Linked DNA regions of Homo sapiens: all the other regions are linked to region 3. Evidence: promoter capture Hi-C in human tissues and cell types (Jung and others, 2019). All regions are on one chromosome and are shown on one strand. The core of a region is centred on a gene start or on the middle of the fragment in contact, and the rest is flanking DNA. Distances in the headings are between cores, read along the strand shown.

Region 1 (3,451 bases), core at 377-2,876, 270 kb after region 3:
CGCGGAGCCCCGGAGCCTGAGCTTGTTCACAAAGAAGCCGCCCAGGAAGGTGCCGCCACCACCCGCTGGCACCACCAGGTACCCTGGGGAGAGGGAGGGATTCAGCCAGGGACTCAGGCAGGGGGCCGTGGTGGGAGAGGGTGGTGGATCAGCCGGGTCCACTTTACAGGTGGGGAAACTGAGGCATAGAGGGATCAATTCCTGCCTGCATGGCAGCACTCAACACCACACCTGAGTGCTTAGCTGTTGCGCTGATAGAGCCCTAGGAGGGACCTCTGTCCAGAGCCCACAGCGGGGATGCCTCAGAGGGGAAGGGGAAGGGGAAGGGGAAGGGGAAGGGGGAGCGGGGGGGCGGGGCGGGGCGGGGGGAGGAGGAGAGCCCAGAGTGCTCCAAGGTCAGCGGCCCCTGCCCCAGTGGGAAGCCAATGACTCCTCCACTGACCCCCCTCCAGGGCAGCCACACCCCCTCCTCCCCCAGGGGCCTCTGCCGAGTCCCTGCAGGCTGTGACAAGGACATTTGTCGAAGCCTGAGTGGCCACCAACAGTAAAAAATTGCGATTAGCTGGCATCTAGCTTCTGGGCTGACAAGTGAGGAGGGCACAGGTGAGGGGACAGGTGGAGAGGGGACAGGTTTGGGGGGACAGGTGGGGAGGGGACAGATTTGGGGGGACAGGTGGGGAGGCTCTCCAAGGGGCAGTAGAGCTGACCTCTGGGGGGCTGTTGAGTGTGGGAATGTGGGCTTGTGAGGTCAGCCCAGAGGGGCCAGGCCAGGATGGGCCTGTGGGGGAGGGAGGGGAGCCCTCATCTGATGCCCTCTTCCTGTCCAGATAGTGGACCCTGGAAGGGTAGAGCGCGGTAGATTGGCGGTGGTGGCCCACATGCCTGGCACCTCTGCCATGGCCCAGGGTACTCTGTGAACGCTGGCAGGAGGAGCAGCTCTGAGGAGGGGTCCCCACTTTCTGCAGACCTGCCCAGCCTGGGAAGGCCAGCCTGCCTCTGGCACCGAGAAACCCCCAGCTGCACTGTTCCAGGAGGTCCTGAGGCACCAGTGCCTGGCTCATGGAACAGCCAGGTCCAAACCCTTCCTGCACCAAGTCACAGAAGCCAAGACTAGGTGGCTAGGGGGTGGAGCCCACCGTGGACCCTTCCACCTACGGAGCATGTCCCACAAAGAGGGCAGGACCACCACTCTCCCGGCCTGTGGACAGAGTCGCTCAGCCCCCGTGGCGCTCTCCACACCTGCTCTGGCAGCGGGGGTGGGAGGGCACTCACTGCCATGTGCCCTGTCTGGGTCTTTCTAGAAGATGCCCTTGAAGACTCTGTTTCTGAGAACTGACATAAAAGCAGAGGACCCCCAAGATTCAGTTTTCTCACCAAACAAGGTGGCAGCTTCTGAGGCACTCAGGCTGAACTGGGACTCCAAGAACTTGGGGCTGAACGTGGACATGCCGGTGATGAGAGTGGCCTCGGTGGCCCCGGCCAGGCAGAGCAGGATGAACGTGGGGTTCTTCAGCAGGAGCCAGATGGAGCTGGGCAGAGGTGGGGGTGTGGAGAAGAGACTGAGGGTCAGAGTGGTGGGCAGAGGTCGGGGTGTGGAGAAGAGACTGAGGGTCAGAGTGGTGGGCAGAGGTCGGGGTGTGGAGAAGAGACTGAGGGTCAGAGTGGGCCAGACCCAGGGTGGGAGGAACCTGCTGTTCCTGAGGCTGTCAGCTCCCCGGTCTGATTACAAAGGGCCCCTGTTCCGACAGGGAGTAGAGTGGGGTGCAGGCAGGTGGGGGACACCCACACTTATTCCAGAGAAACCCAGGGGGCGCCAGGCTGAGCCTATGCCTGTGGCCCACTTGTCCTGAAAGCTGCAGTCCCTGATTAGGGAAAAACCTTATCAGTGCCTTGGCCAGAGCTTCAGCTCAGGTGGGGAGAGACCCCAAGTGACCCAGGACCCTGTTCCGTCACTGGCCAGCAGCAGGGCCTGAAAAAGGGAACTGGCTGGGGCAGGCAGAGGCCACCAAGTCCAGGACCGGACAGGCCCTGGGATAGGGGAATGGAATCACGGGAATGGGGACTGTGGCCAGTCCCCAACCGCCAGCCCCTGGGAGAAGTGGGGCAGGAAGCCACTGGGATTCGAACCCTCCATGCAAGAAGCCCCTGGGTAGACGGACCTGGCTAGCTTGGTTTGCACTTGGGGGCCAGTGGCCCTGGGGGTGGTGAGGCCTCAACTGGGGCGAGTCCTTGGTGCATGGGCCTGGAGCCCTGGGGGGAACTGTGGGAACTCTGAGCCGTCTGGCCCTGAGGGCTCAGCCTCAGCCTCCACATCTGCCTGTTGCGGTCCTGGCTGTGGGGTCTCAGGATAAGGACATAGCCCCCTGGAAGCTGGGAAGGCCCCACATCAGGCCTTGCAGTTTCTAACCCAGGAGGTGGCCGACAGCAGTGCGTCGGGGCTGCCTGTCCCTGCACACGAGGCCCTGGGGGGTGAATGGAGGCTCTCCCTGTTTTTGTTAGCATTGGAGGCCTGAGCAGGGCTAACGCCCAACCGCTGCTTAAGCGCATAAGATGCTGAGATGGAAAACGTGTTGCATGGTGTAAACCACGCAAAGCCCTCCCAGCCAGTGCAGTGATCGAGGCAGACAGAAGGGAAACCGCCTCTGCAAAGAGAGGCTCGGCTCTCTCTGGGGTACACAGATCACCCAGACTGGGCAAAGCTCACATTCATCCCAGCTCACAGCTGCCTGCATCCTGTTCACAGCACGCTCCTGTGCGTGACCCTTCTCCCCCACTGAGTGGGGGGCTCTCGGCCTCAGGTGGGGGTGTTTGCAGACACAGCTATTGTCCTGTCCCTGGAACTCATAACATAGACCAGGGGCAGAGACTGTTCCTGAAGCCCCAGGTCATGGCACAATAGCCTCTCACATCAGCCCACAGTAATGCAAATTTTCACAATAAATGACATGTCCATGTCGCCTCTGCTCACACCGCAGTGTCGCTGACTTGAACCCCTGCGTCTGCAGCTTAGTGACATCCTGTAAACCTACACTTTCCAGCCTCTCACCAGAGCAGACTGTCGGCCTCACATCACCCCCACCTGCAGGAGGGCGGCTCTTTCCTCTCGGCCACACCTAGAGCCTGGTTCCGATGAACGCAACTCTGAATGCCTGGAACATTCAAATGCTCTTGTTTGAGGAGGTGGCCAAATGTAAATGGATTCTGAAGAATCAGGAACAGACGGTGCAGCCCTAGTTAGCCTCTGAGCCCCAACAGGCCCACAGGTGCCTTGCAGAGCTGATGTTGGCGTCAGAAACTCCGCTCCAGCCTCACAGGCACTCTGCCTGCTTGGAGGTGTTCGCTGGCTCGCTCAGACTGACCTCAGCAGCCATGAACATGGGTTCTTTCTGTCCCCTTCCCTGATTAAAATGGGAGAGCCCAGTTCTTTCAAAATTTATTTCCTGACTTGAGG
Region 2 (3,641 bases), core at 932-3,431, 330 kb before region 3:
GGGAAGCCCTGTTGTCTCGTCTAAGGAGTGGCCTGGACCCTCCTGCATGGCAGAACCAATGGGCATCTTGAAATGACTTTTAGTCTCGTCAACTGTCCAGGGCTCCAGGCCCCCATGAGAGGCACATCTGGCCGTAGCGTCACCAGAGCCCTTAGTCTCCCCCGGACTCGGAGCTCACCTTGAAAACTGAGGCTTAGCCCGTTCATTCCTGTGGCTCAGCCCAGCACACATGGCCATGCATGTGGCTGAGAGCCCCTCCCAGCTCAGCTCCTCCCATCCTGCATTCCACCCACCTTTCTCCAGGGAGCACGCCTGAATGTCGGCGTTCCTGTAAATTCCCACGTTGAAATCCTAACCGCCAGTGTGCTGGTTTCAGGAGGTGAGGCCTTTGGGAGGTGATGAGGGGTCAAAGGCAGAGCCCTCATGAATGGGATGAGTGCCCTCATAAAAGGGGCCCCAGAGAGACCCGACGCCTTTCCCATGTGAGGACACAGAGAGGAGGTGCCGGCTCTTGGGCACAGACCCTCGCCCAGCCCAGAATATCCCCATGCCTTGATCTTGGACTTCCGGCCTCCAGAACTGTGAGAAATGAATTTCTGTTGCTCACAAGCCACACAGTCTGGTGGATTTTCTTACAGCAGCCTGAGCAGATTAAGACAAGCACCTCCCAAAGAATCACTGGCACAGCAATCCCTGTCTTCAGCCTCCAGGGAACCTGACCTACGACAGCAGCCCTCCCAGCTGGCATTCCGGCTGCCATGTGCTGTGATGGGTGCCAGCACCTCTTAGTTTGGGTGAAGGGGAGAGGCCAGCAGCATAGCAAAGGGGAAATCCTTCTGGATCGTCGCCTCTCTCTCTCCAACCCTCTCCATCACCAGCATCAACCTGCAAGTCAGGTCACCTTGAGCCAAAGCCAGAAAGCCCCACACTCGCTGGGCTGCTCCATGCTCAGGCTGTTCCCTGCTCAGCGCTCCACACTTCATGGTAGAGTCCCCTGAAGTTCTCCTGCCCAGAAGTTCCTTCTTTCTGCCCAGACCTCGCTCAGCACCATCATCCTAGGAATAAAATCCCAGGAATAAACTCATCATTCCAGGCCTCCTAGGAACTTGGGTTCTGGTCTTGTCTCTGCCCCGCCCTCTCGTGCAGCTGCTGGGGGCCTCCAGCCCCTGCTCACTCACCCACGCCCTCTGCACCCTCCACTTGAGAGAATTCTGGTCATTCCCCTGGCCCTGCCCTGCCCCGTTGTCTGGGAGTTGCTGGAGGGTTGGCTCATCCCCTCGCCCTCTCCCTGTCTCTTGGTGTGTCCGGCCAGGGCTCACACAGAGGCAGCTCCAGGGAAATTCCTGTAGCTCAACTGCTGGGTCCTGCATTGCCACCACAGTCACAGCCAGCTTGAGCGGTGACGGGGGGAAGAAGTGAGGCAGGGGAGCTGACTCGCAGGTGGGGCTTTCAGGAAGGAGGCATTCTACAACCCCAGGGCACCATGGGGGTGCCCCTTGGAGGCTTGAAAGCCCCTTTGGTCCTGGGCAGGACCTCCAGAGGGAGCACGGCCAGCAGTTTGGGGTGGACCTGCCCAGATCTTGTCTTCTGCATAAACAGGCACACGGCCTGGGCTTCCCTGCTACTCACACCTTGATTGGTGGCTTTCTTGCGTCCCCTCTATAGCAGAGGCTTGTTCATCTTAACCACTGAGGTCTCTTACGTTCTCTAACTGGCCTCTGATTGGAAGACAGGACTCTCCTGTCACAATCATCATTACTTTGTTTTACCTTCGATGTTGCACTGGACATCTTTGTGCGGTGACCTCTCTCTGTTTGTGCGAGTATTTCCACAACATAGACCTCTAGAGGTGGAAGTGCCAGGTAAGTTCTGGGAGATTCCACCAAATTGTCCTCCAAACCCCTGTGCCAGATGCGCTGATGGGAGTGTGCCTGTTCCTTGCGTCCCCTCCCTGGCTGCCATTACCAAGGGGGCTGTCTCCGCCGGGCTCTAAGCACACGCGTCGCCATCGCTGTTTAATTTTCTCATCTTAATGGTGGTGAGGCCAAGCAAACACGGCCTGGCCATGGTGTGTCCTGTGGATGCCTGTGTTTTTCTCTGCCCATTTTTGTCTCCTGTTGATCATCTTCCACCACCAGGTCCTTCTGAAACAGCTTTGTCCTGTATCTGGAGAGAAGCACGTGAGGTTGGCCCGGGGCTGCCCACGACGGTGCCGCCTGGGTCCTGGAGAGAAGCGCGTGGGGTTGGCCCGGGGCTGCCCACGACGGTGCCGCCTGGGTCCTGGAGAGAAGCGCGTGGGGTTGGCCCGGGGCTGCCCACGACGGTGCCGCCTGGGTCCTGGAGAGAAGCGCGTGGGGTTGGCCCGGGGCTGCCCACGACGGTGCCGCCTGGGTCCTGGAGAGAAGCGCGTGGGGTTGGCCCGGGGCTGCCCACGACGGTGCCGCCTGGGTCCTGGAGAGAAGCGCGTGGGGTTAGTGCGGGGCTGCCCACGACGGTGCCGCCTGGGTCCTGGAGAGAAGCGCGTGGGGTTGGCCCGGGGCTGCCCACGACGGTGCTGCCTTGGTCCTGGCTTCTGGCCTGCTGCATGGTGGGACTCCACCTGGCTGGTTCCAGCCCCGTCTGCCCCCACTTCTGCTGCCTGTGCGTGGCGTCCAGAAGAACTGGGGCCCAGGACAGAAGGAAATGGGAAGAATGTCAGGGTGTGTAAGTCACCCAGAAGTACAAATGTTCCTCGAAAATGCTGAGCCGCTCTGTCCTGAGCTCCAAGAAACTTGCAGCTGTGCTGAATTACGTGTGGCCACAGCGGCTAAGGAGTCACAGCTAAGAATGTGCTGAGACCAGGCCAGCTTCTCAGATTGCAGAACTGGTAGCTCAGATCCTGGGGCTGTGACAGCTGGACCCGCAGGGTCCTCCTGCTTTGGACCCTCCCATGCGTATCTTAGCCAGGAATCTTTCCAGATTCTAGTTGCTAGAGGCAAAAATCTCAACCCCAAATGGCTTAGCAAAGGGAATGTATTGATTTGTGTGATGAAAATTCTAGAACAAAGTTCAATTTCAGGTGTGGCTTGATCCAGCAGCTCAGCACTATTGCTGAGAACCAGGATTCTCTGTGTATGTTTGCAGTTCCGTCTTCATCCTGAGACCCCAGGATGCTTCTGGCAGCTTCTAAGGCTGCAAGCTTCATGATTCGCCTCCAGCAAGAGAAAGTAGCCTTGCACCGGCATCCCAGCTGAAAGCTCACGCTCCACCCTGATGGGCCTAGCTGGGGTCATGTGTCCACTTCCAAACAATCACCGGCCAGGAGGATAGAATGTGCTGACTGGGTGCCCTGGGCTCCAAGCTCCAGCCCTGAGGCCCATGTGGACTCAGTTTCCCCAGACTGTGAGGACCCCTAGCAGAAGACCAAGGTGTTGGGCACGGAGGGCGAGGTATTGAGAGCCTTGCCTCAAACCGGTGCTGTGTGGCTGGGCTTCCATGGTCCCGAGGGACCGGGAAACTCTTCCTGTGTGATCGGAGTTGTTCCCATGTGTCCCCAGGCCCAGCCAGTTGCCGACAGCCAGAGCGGTACCAACACTGGTGACCGAGTGGTGGGCATTACCAGCTTCCCAAACTGGGATGCCTCTCTCCTGCAGGACGGGGCA
Region 3 (3,256 bases), core at 588-3,087:
GCCCCAGAGGCAGCTGTTCCGGCTTTGGGAGAATGGGTGGATACCTGAGACAGGCAGGGGCACGCCACCGTCCACTCTGTCTTTCTCTTTTGCCACTGATACATACGTTACACATACTACTTTATACGAAGTACTGCTAAAGTGTTTCAATAAATTAAAAAACTTTGGTCTCTTGGCTGAAAATGGGATGAATGCAGGGTGGTGAGATCTGAGCAGCCAGTCCCTTAGGGAGACACCCAAGCGAGAGAGAACATCGGCAGAAGAGATGGAGAGCAAGGTGAGATCAAGATGCTTTGGCCAGAGTCAATGGCTGCTGCTAGACAGATTACCGGACAAAAGAGAGGGAAGAATAGAAGATGGTCACAGGTTTCAAGCATGAGAGGCCCTGCAAGATGGGGCCACAAATAAGGAGGAAGGACTGGAAGAAGAACAGGTTTGAGAAGCAGGGCAAGTTTGACGTGACTATTAGACATGCGTCTGGAGAAATCAAGCAGGTGTCTGAATTACAGATCCTGAGCTCAGAGCTGAAAACATGAATTAGTGAAATAAGGGGCGGGGGGGGCGGTGCTGGGGCACAGGGATATTTAAAGCCAAGAATTCAGCAAAGACCATAGGAAGAGCGTAGATAGGGAATGAGAATCGCCATTACTTGGAGGATGCCAACCTTGAAGGTAAAGCAGAGAAAGTGGCACCAGCAGAAGAAAACTTGATGTGGAGCGGCAGGTAAAGTGGAGGAGAAACCAGGAGTCGCTGTCACACACGAACACCCATCTTTCGTTGTCAACTGCAAAACTCACTGAGACCAACTTTTTATTCACGACAATTAATGGTAACTTAAGGACTCATTTTCTTTTTCTTTTTTTTTTGAGACAGAGCCTCGCTCTGTCGCCCAGGCTGGAGGGCAGTGGCGCGATCATGGCTCACCGCAGCCTCGACCTCCTGGGCTCAAGCGATCCTCCCACCTCAGCCTCCAGAGTAACTGGGACAACAGGAGCGCACCACTCTGCCTGGCTAATTTTTTTATTTTTAGCAGAGAAGGGAGTCTCGCTGTTGCCACGGCTGGTCTCGAACTCGCGGGCTCAAGTGATCCGCCCACTTCGACCTCCGCCACCGCGCCCGGCCCTAGGACCAACGTTAAGAGCTCCCTAGGAAAAGGCACCTTTTCTCTCGGCCCATTCGGTGATCGGCACTCACAGCGCTTCCACTCCGGGCAGTTACGTGCGCCCATGAAAAGCAACAACTTTGTAGAACTGGCCAGTCCTGTTAGCAGGAAGAACTCGGTAGTCTCAAACTCCAGCATAAAAAGATTCAGCAGAAGAAAACACCCGTGTGCTGAAGACTCCTACTTTCCATGCCACACTTTACATCCTCACCCGCTCGGTTTCTGCTTTAAAGCAGCAGATTTTATTAAAAAGACTTCGTTACGGACGTCGCTCCTCCACAGAGACAGCTACCGCCGCCCCTCAGGCTGGCCGGGACCGCCCCAGAACACCAGCGCCTGAGGCCGCGCGCCTGGAGGCTGAGCCCTGACTGCCCCCTGGGCACCGGCGCGGGGCGGCCGTCCGGGCCTGGACTCACTGCGCGCCCCAATTCCGCACCTGCCAGCGCCGGCGCTTCCAAGGCCCCCAGAGCGGGGGCGGCGCGCACCCCGGCCACATCCCGCCTGCCCGCCCGGCCCGGCCCCGGGAGACGCTCGGCCCGGCCGCCCGGGCCCGCCGCCGCCATCTTACCGTGCGGAACCTGCCTCCCGCGCTGCGCGGTCTGGGCGGCTGCGGCTCCGCAGCCTCTCCTGGGCTGGGGAGAGGTGGCGGCCGCCGGGGCGCCCGAGTAGAAGGAGGCAGAGGTGGGGGCCGCGGCGGAGGCGGGGGCGGGGGCGGGGGCGGGGAGCGGGAGGGCAGGCGCACCGGAGGCCGCCCCTCAGCACCTCTCGCGACAGCAAGAGAGCGCGAGAGCGCGAGCCGATGACCAATGAAGCGCCCCCGCGAGGGGGCGGGGCGGACGGCCTCCCGGAAGCGCGGAACCTCAGCTTCCGTACTTGCGCAGAACTCCCCTCGCGGCGACCACGCACTACGGGTTGGCGCCAGAGTCAAAAGGCGTCGGCCCTCTGGCAAGATGGCTGCTGCGGAGGCGTTGGAGCGCGGAAATCTGGAACCGGGATGGCGACGTCTACACTGAGTCGGAGGCGAAGGTCCCAGCTTTTTTCCTGTCGTTTGCGTGAGGCCGCACGGGGTGGGGCGGGGGAAAGGCGCCGGGTGTCCGCGGCCGCCCCTCAGACGGGGAGGGAGTCCCCTCCCGACCGGCGGCCTTCCAGGGCTAGTGTCCCTGAGGTCCAGGGAGAGACGGCTGACCCGAGACCGGGCTGGGCGAGAGCTGTGCTGTCTGCGCGTTGAAGCGAGTTCCCCCGCTTTACTCGAGATGTTGTTGAGCGCGTCCTCACTCGAGGCCAGGTGGGGAATCAGAAGGGCCCTGCCCTCAGGGCGCCTCCCATGGGCTACGCCGAAGGGCGGGACGCGGCCAGGGCGCGCGGGACAAAGGAGACCCCACTTGCTTGCGGGGCGGAGTCCCGGCGGCGGCGCGGGGCAGGGCCGGGGTTACTCGGTGACTGGAGACCCTCCCGGCAGGAGCGCGGGTTGAGGCCGCACTTGGGTATTTGCGCGTTTACTTGCTTATTGCCTGTCCGCTCAGGAGGAATGCGAAGTCTGTCATTGCAGGGTCCCATGTTTCCGTTGCTGGGAAGTACCTTAAAATATTTGATAGAGCCGAAGGAAGAAATAGAGTCCTTGAGGGGCAGCTCCTGATTTCATCTGTGAGGAATTCACGGGACGGCTTCTTTCTGAAGTCAGGGGTGAGGTGGTTTCGTGTGTTTGCTTACAAGCGAGCTGAACAACGTGTAAGCTATGTCGGTCGGTCTACTCAGCGACAGTAAGTCCAGTTCGGCAAATAGGTTGGAGGAGACTGATTTTGGACATTTTCCGTTAATCGAAAGAGCTAAATCTGCAGGTATAAGGTCTTGACAAAATTATGCTTCATATGCAGAGGCAGTACATGCCAGTAATTTTTTCATTTGCAACTACATAACCCTATGGGAAACAGTTATTGGTCTTTATTTAGTTATTTATTTTGAGACGAAGTCTCACTCTCGCCCAGGCTGGAGCGCAGTGGCGCCATCTCGGCTCACTGCAACCTCCGCCTCCCGGGTTCAAGCGATTCTCCTGCCTCAGCCTCCCGAGTAGCTGGGACCACAGGGGCGCACCAC

Evidence for each region. Contacts are between HindIII fragments. The study calls those that stand out against the background at their distance.
Region 1: a contact is called between a fragment that was not itself captured here and the fragment with the promoter of GID8 in region 3, in 1 of the 25 tissues and cell types used here (spleen).
Region 2: a fragment that was not itself captured here is called in contact with the fragment with the promoter of GID8 in region 3 in 1 of the 25 tissues and cell types used here (spleen).

What each region holds. Positions count from the first base shown.
Region 1 is chr20:62,663,012-62,666,462 of GRCh38, reverse strand. It overlaps SLCO4A1 (solute carrier organic anion transporter family member 4A1), which reads right to left. Exons shown (of 12, transcript NM_016354.4): 6 at 1,375-1,529; 7 at 1-83. SLCO4A1-AS1 (SLCO4A1 antisense RNA 1) reads left to right here. Exons shown (of 4, transcript NR_024470.1): 1 at 1-78; 2 at 453-603; 3 at 966-1,539; 4 at 2,976-3,436. Among named protein-coding and RNA genes, the nearest start is that of SLCO4A1-AS1, 1.9 kb to the left of the region's middle. The HindIII fragment of the contact is 7,352 bases long and covers 1-3,451 here.
Region 2 is chr20:63,265,513-63,269,153 of GRCh38, reverse strand. No RefSeq gene overlaps it. Among named protein-coding and RNA genes, the nearest start is that of ARFGAP1, 5.5 kb to the left of the region's middle. The HindIII fragment of the contact is 7,334 bases long and covers 1-3,641 here.
Region 3 is chr20:62,936,728-62,939,983 of GRCh38, reverse strand. GID8 (GID complex subunit 8 homolog) reads right to left here and starts at 1,837. Exons shown (of 5, transcript NM_017896.3): 1 at 1,731-1,837. It also overlaps a transcript of DIDO1 not described here. RefSeq lists silencers at 1,467-1,596, 1,667-1,896, 2,267-2,316, 2,587-2,636 and an enhancer at 1,103-1,771. The HindIII fragment of the contact is 10,021 bases long and covers 1-3,256 here.